2 separate regions of the Homo sapiens genome follow, and region 2 is linked to region 1. Evidence: promoter capture Hi-C in human tissues and cell types (Jung and others, 2019). All regions are on one chromosome and are shown on one strand. The core of a region is centred on a gene start or on the middle of the fragment in contact, and the rest is flanking DNA. Distances in the headings are between cores, read along the strand shown.

Region 1 (3,212 bases), core at 392-2,891:
CATACATTTTGATTGTTTTTTATTATTATTGCTTGGAACCTCAACTGAAAATGTGTCTCCTTCTTGCACAGAACATGGATACTTCTTGTGCTATGTCACAAGAAGTCACTATCTCCCCAAATAAAAGGCTAGATTGACCAGAATGTTTGCATCTTTCCCATTCAAGCACCTGGCTAGGCCCATTAAGCCTAGGGCCCTACCTCTCAATGCTTTTCAATCCCCTGACACTCAGTACTCTCATTACATATTTGGTGACTTAATTTACAGAATTGCTAAACTCACATTTCTGAACATGGCTTCTAAAACTGACTATCTCTCCCCAGCTTAGCCAGAAGGGCTGCAAGGAAGAACAGAGACCAGAAGGCCTACAGCAGCTAGCAAGGTTAACTTCATGGAGCACCATCGTGCCTTTCAAAGTTCCCATTTCACAAAGTTTTGCCTGGGAACTCAGCAGGAACTTTAGCAACAGGAGAGAATTAGAAATAAATGGCTAAATGAAACCTAGATTTATGTTTCAGTCAATTGAGAGAATCTGACATGTTATGTGCCAGCCCACAGTAGGTATTCAGTAAGTAACTGTTGAATAAATTTGGTGGTAGAAAAAAATATCTCAGTGGCTCTTGGCATTCATTGCCTCTTCTATAGAGACTATACTATACATCCCTCTGCTGCCTTTGAGCAGGACTTTAAAACTCTATGACTCTAGTAAAATCAAGAGTATTTTCACAACCAAGATAAGTTTTTACAATGGTTTTCCTCCACATGGTAAAAAAGAAAGAAGGAAAAAAAATGATGAAGCTCCCTGAATTACTGGATGGGAAACACTGGCTTCTTTAATGCAGGAATGCAGACTGGCTTCGGGGTTCTTGAAGGAGAAATGCATAACTCTTCCTCTCCAGGCTTTTGGCTGGAGACACCCTGTGGGTAAGTTAGGGGAGAGGTAAGAGGGAGCGGGCAATTCCAGTATTTTCACATAGGGAAAGGGTAACGAAGAATCAGGCTGTAAAAGCCAGCTATTGGGAGAGGAAATAAAACTTAAAAATTTGTCATCGTTACTGAAAAAAAAAAAAAAAAAGGTAGGGACAAAAGGAATAGGAAAATGATGGGGGTGGGGGGACTAGTAAAGGAAAACCTGCAAAGGAAGTTGGAAAGAGGAAAGAGTGTCATACGCATTTTGTTTTTATTCCTGCTCCTTCTCTCTCACTCCCTCCAGAAGCTAGAAAAAGTTTGCAAGCGCAACTTTAGGGATGGGAGACGGGGCTCTTCACCAACAGCCCCACGAAAAGAAGTGCCCGCTTTACCCTTCCCCATTCGCGCCGCCGTCCTTTCCCTCTAGCGGGGTGATGGGCAGGAGGCGACACTCTTGGGACGCGGTAGCCCAGGCGGATCCCCCGGAATCCCGCTGGGCTGGAGCAGCACGCAGCTCTCTCTCTGGCAAAGCCTCCTCTGCCTTGGCCATCCACCTCCCGGAAAAGAAAAAGGAAAGATCGAGCCTCTAAACAGTCCTTTTCCCCCACCCCCTCTTCCCGGGGGAGCTCAGGAAGAAAGTACCGTTCTGTGATTCACTGGAGAGAAAAGAGGGAGGAGGCAAAAGAACTCGGAGTGCCAAAGCTAAATAAGTTAGCTGAGAAAACGCACGCAGTTTGCAGCGCCTGCGCCGGGTGCGCCAACTACGCAAAGACCAAGCGGGCTCCGCGCGGACCGGCCGCGGGGCTAGGGACCCGGCTTTGGCCTTCAGGCTCCCTAGCAGCGGGGAAAAGGAATTGCTGCCCGGAGTTTCTGCGGAGGTGGAGGGAGATCAGGAAACGGCTTCTTCCTCACTTCGCCGCCTGGTGAGTGTCGGGGAGATTGGCAAACGCCTAGGAAAGGACTGGGGAAAATAGCCCTGGGAAAGTGGAGAAGGTGATCAGGAGGCCGGTCCACTACGGCAGTTTATCTGTCTGATCAGAGCCAGACGCGACGCGTCCACTTCGCAGTTCTTTCCAGGTGTGGGGACCGCAGGACAGACGGCCGATCCCGCCGCCCTCCGTACCAGCACTCCCAGGAGAGTCAGCCTCGCTCCCCAACGTCGAGGGCGCTCTGGCCACGAAAAGTTCCTGTCCACTGTGATTCTCAATTCCTTGCTTGGTTTTTTTCTCCAGAGAACTTTTGGGTGGAGATATTAACTTTTTTCTTTTTTTTTTCCTTGGTGGAAGCTGCTCTAGGGAGGGGGGAGGAGGAGGAGAAAGTGAAATGTGCTGGAGAAGAGCGAGCCCTCCTTGTTCTTCCGGAGTCCCATCCATTAAGCCATCACTTCTGGAAGATTAAAGTTGTCGGACATGGTGACAGCTGAGAGGAGAGGAGGATTTCTTGCCAGGTGGAGAGTCTTCACCGTCTGTTGGGTGCATGTGTGCGCCCGCAGCGGCGCGGGGCGCGTGGTTCTCCGCGTGGAGTCTCACCTGGGACCTGAGTGAATGGCTCCCAGGGGCTGTGCGGGGCATCCGCCTCCGCCTTCTCCACAGGCCTGTGTCTGTCCTGGAAAGATGCTAGCAATGGGGGCGCTGGCAGGATTCTGGATCCTCTGCCTCCTCACTTATGGTTACCTGTCCTGGGGCCAGGCCTTAGAAGAGGAGGAAGAAGGGGCCTTACTAGCTCAAGCTGGAGAGAAACTAGAGCCCAGCACAACTTCCACCTCCCAGCCCCATCTCATTTTCATCCTAGCGGATGATCAGGGATTTAGAGATGTGGGTTACCACGGATCTGAGATTAAAACACCTACTCTTGACAAGCTCGCTGCCGAAGGAGTTAAACTGGAGAACTACTATGTCCAGCCTATTTGCACACCATCCAGGAGTCAGTTTATTACTGGAAAGTAAGTGTTCCTACTTCTTATATTTATTCCTTGGAGAAATCTTAAGCATTTAATGAAGATCCAGCTCCAAATTTAAGGGAGTAACAGAAAGTATGGGGAACAACTGAATGAATGAAGAATGAATGAATGATGTATGGTATTGGGGTACCGTGTTAAAATGGATACAATGTTAATGATCTTAATTTTCTAGTCACTAGTGTAGTCTAGTTTTCCTTTTTACAGAGCCAATTATAAGTTTCTAAATGAGATGAGAACGTATAAATACCCACAAACCAGAGATTTCCAGAAATGGTCTCCTGTTTCAAATCTATTCTACTTTTGAGCATGCTCAGATTTTGTTTCAGATGTCATACTAGAATTC
Region 2 (3,212 bases), core at 307-2,806, 390 kb before region 1:
GTCAGGAGTTTGAGAACAGCCTGGCCAACAAGGTGAAACTTCGTCTCTATTAAAAATACAAAAATTAGCCAAAAGTGGTGGGGCACACCTGTAGTCCAAGATACTCTGGAGACTGAGGCAGGAGAATCGCTTGAACCCGGGAGGCGGAGGTTGCTGTGAGCTGAGATTACGCCACTACACTCCAGCCTGGGCAACAGAGGGAGACTCCATTTAAAAAAAAAAAAAAAAAAAAAAAAAAAAACTATGATTTTCCTTTTCTCTTCTTTTTCCTCTATTGCTAAGGTACACAGTGAAATGTAAGCCATTATTGTAACATTTGGTAATGGCATATCCCAATATTTAGCTAGTATAGGGAAGGAAACAATTTCGTTCCCTTTCCTATTAAGATTCTTAGTTCAGACATGTTCCTGAAAATAAAAGTCAGATTAACAAAAGAAAAATAAGCATAAGCTTATTAACATGTGCTGTTCTATCACACAGGAGAGGCCTCAGTTCAAAAGTATTTCTCTCTCAAAGCTGTGGCTCAGGGACCTTGCTTGAATTTAATAGTATTTTAACAAAGAGCCATAAATCCTATGTAGAGAAAAAAGAGAGAGAAGTTTCAGTCTTTTAAATGGTGGGAAAATGTGGGGAGATAGTAAAATCCATTCCCAAGTTCCTCTGGTGTCTGCTGGTGCCTTCCCTGGGCTGATAAGCAAGTGCTGTCTCCAATAAGCAAGGACTGATGTCCTGTCATCAGGCAGAGAGAGCTGAGGCAGAGTCTTGCCCTTTGTTTTCAGTCTCTTTAACATAACAATCTTCAATATTTTTTCCTTTACTAACCAAAATGAAAGATAATTTAGTGAACACAACTGCATGCTTTTTGTTTTCATCATGTTTCTCTGACTTAAAATACAACGCATTCAATCTTAATTCAGTCCCCACGTGTACCTAAGTCATGACCATACCTGTGAGAAAAGGAAATCCAATTGCTTATTCTCTCCATGTGCTGCGATATTATTTCTTGGTGTTACAGACTTTTAGAGAATGATAACTTACAATTTAGGAAGTAACGCATAATGAAACAAAAGTGCATACCCCTCCCTTGCCAGGGGATAGGAGAGCACAGAGACCTACATTTGCTCACAGAAGCCTCAAGATAGTTTCATAAATTAGAGATCCTTGCACTAAGTTCAGGCCTGCTTGGTGAATTCCTAATGGATATTAAATTTAAATACCTCCCAACTTCTCAGCATGTGGCCATCAGGACAAACATAAGATCTCTGTTATTATTTCTTTTCTCTTTCCCAGATAATTACACTTTAAAAATGTAATCAAGATTAGGACTTGCCTTCATTTGGGCAGTAATGTGACTTAGTTAAATAGAAAATCTTAGTACAATTATTTAAAACATGGTCTGGGTATCTGAAGACAATAAATCTAACTGATCTGAGGCAACATTATTAATATAATGGACACTGGACATAAAAGGTTCTAGTTTGAGTGCCAACCTATTCCAGCCACAGGGGAGTTGAGATGTTTTTGAAGTCTCACAGTAAGCAAAATGCCACCAACACTTTGCAGAATTTTAGAGAGTGGTTGAAAAAGATAAACATACTAGAGGTTTAGCTATGGATTAGTTGTGACTTGGACCTTGTGTGCAACTAATCAGCAATCAGAAATTTAAGATTTCTGACAATATTTGGAAACAGTGCCATGTGATAATCACTAAGTGGAATTATAGGCATGTATCAGAGGCAGTGGCCAAGCTGTTGAATTTTATGGTAAACATGCATTCTTGATTTCCTGACTCAGTCCTCTGCTGCCGTATATGAATCTGTAATGGTCAGATCATGTTTCCTTAATAATTTTTGGAAGTTTAATTAACCAAAATACCATAACTTTAACGTCTCAAATAGAGGACATAGGACTATCATTGACAAATAACCTTAAATATTGTGCATTTAATATTTAATATATGGTTTATAAGGCTTGTATGGATGAGTTACTTGTATATGGTAAAGAACATATAGCGAACCCATCCCTGCAACTCACAATTACTGCTGCTGCTGATAGGTAATGGGGGGAGGAAAAAAAGAGATAGCTTAAGGAAGCTACCTCAGGTAAATTTGTGGCAGAAGCTCTCTCAGACTGTTTAACGAGTTCACATCACTTCATGACAATGCTTGAGATGTTGCTAAGTAAAGCTTCATTGGGAAAAAATAATAATAGGAAATCTTAGAAGAAAAAAGGGCCAGTACAATAAACTAGTAAAAAATTACTTCAACTAGATAGTTCTGTACAAAGACCTTGACCATATCTTACTGTGGCACCAATGGAATTGTTGAATATAAAGGGTGAGAAGTTAGTTGGAAAACTATTTTTCAGCAGGAGCATTTTATTTATTCTGTAGTTCAGAACAGGTAGGTTCAGGGGTATCACTTAGAAGAAATCCACCAGGAGTTGCTGTAGGAATGCTTTGTGTATAAGAAATCTGTTATTTAGCAGGCTTGGAGACACTTTAAGTAAGCTAAGGGAATCAAAGGATAGCAGGGAACAAATTGTCTTGTTCTATAAATGTCCCACATTTAAGCACCTTAATCACTTAGCCTTAAAAAAAAAAAAAAGCATGACTTATTTATTGGGAGAAGAGCAGGCCAATTTCCAGGATTCCCCTTATACCATAATTTAAACATGTAAAAGTCATAAATTAGAAAAACAAATTATTAAGTCGAATATCCTTCTCTGGACAAATGTATCTTCATAATTACAAAATTAAACATATGTATAAAATTATTATTTTTATAATATTAAACATTGGCACAAAAATCAAAGACAACTAAATTGCCCACCTTTTGATATTCTATTGATGGAGCAGCAGTATTTGGATGAGTAATAAATGAAACATTCACAATTTATAAGTCATTTTATATTTACCCTATCAAATTTATTTCTTGTCTTACATACAGGAAGTCAATATTCTGTAATAATCAACATTTTGAGGTAACTTGTTGCCCCTGTGGTAGGCAGGATTTGAAGATGGCCCCCTAAGATTCTTAGCCCTTAGTGTACCTCCCACTCCTAGCTAATTGATACAATCCAACACTGGTTTAGGCATTGCTGTAAAGAAATTTTACAAATGTAATAAGATTCCAAATCAGTTGATCTTAAAGTAAGAAAATTATTTTAAGGGAATGACTTAATCACATCATCACTTTAAGAAGCACAGAAGT

Evidence for each region. The method cuts DNA at HindIII sites, captures the fragments that hold promoters and counts their contacts. A contact is called where the count stands out against the background at its distance.
Region 2: a fragment that was not itself captured here is called in contact with the fragment with the promoter of ARSJ in region 1 in 3 of the 25 tissues and cell types used here (H1 embryonic stem cells, lymphoblastoid cells and mesenchymal stem cells).

What each region holds. Positions count from the first base shown.
Region 1 is chr4:113,978,076-113,981,287 of GRCh38, reverse strand. It overlaps ARSJ (arylsulfatase family member J), which reads left to right and starts at 1,641. Exons shown (of 2, transcript NM_024590.4): 1 at 1,641-2,851. The coding sequence starts at 2,454. LOC107986305 (a long non-coding RNA gene) reads right to left here and starts at 1,475. Exons shown (of 2, transcript XR_001741794.2): 1 at 1,302-1,475; 2 at 1-918. LOC124900762 (a long non-coding RNA gene) reads left to right here. Exons shown (of 3, transcript XR_007058237.1): 3 at 324-393. The HindIII fragment of the contact is 13,267 bases long and covers 1-3,212 here.
Region 2 is chr4:114,365,111-114,368,322 of GRCh38, reverse strand. No RefSeq gene overlaps it. Among named protein-coding and RNA genes, the nearest start is that of UGT8, 230 kb to the left of the region's middle. The HindIII fragment of the contact is 4,665 bases long and covers 1-3,212 here.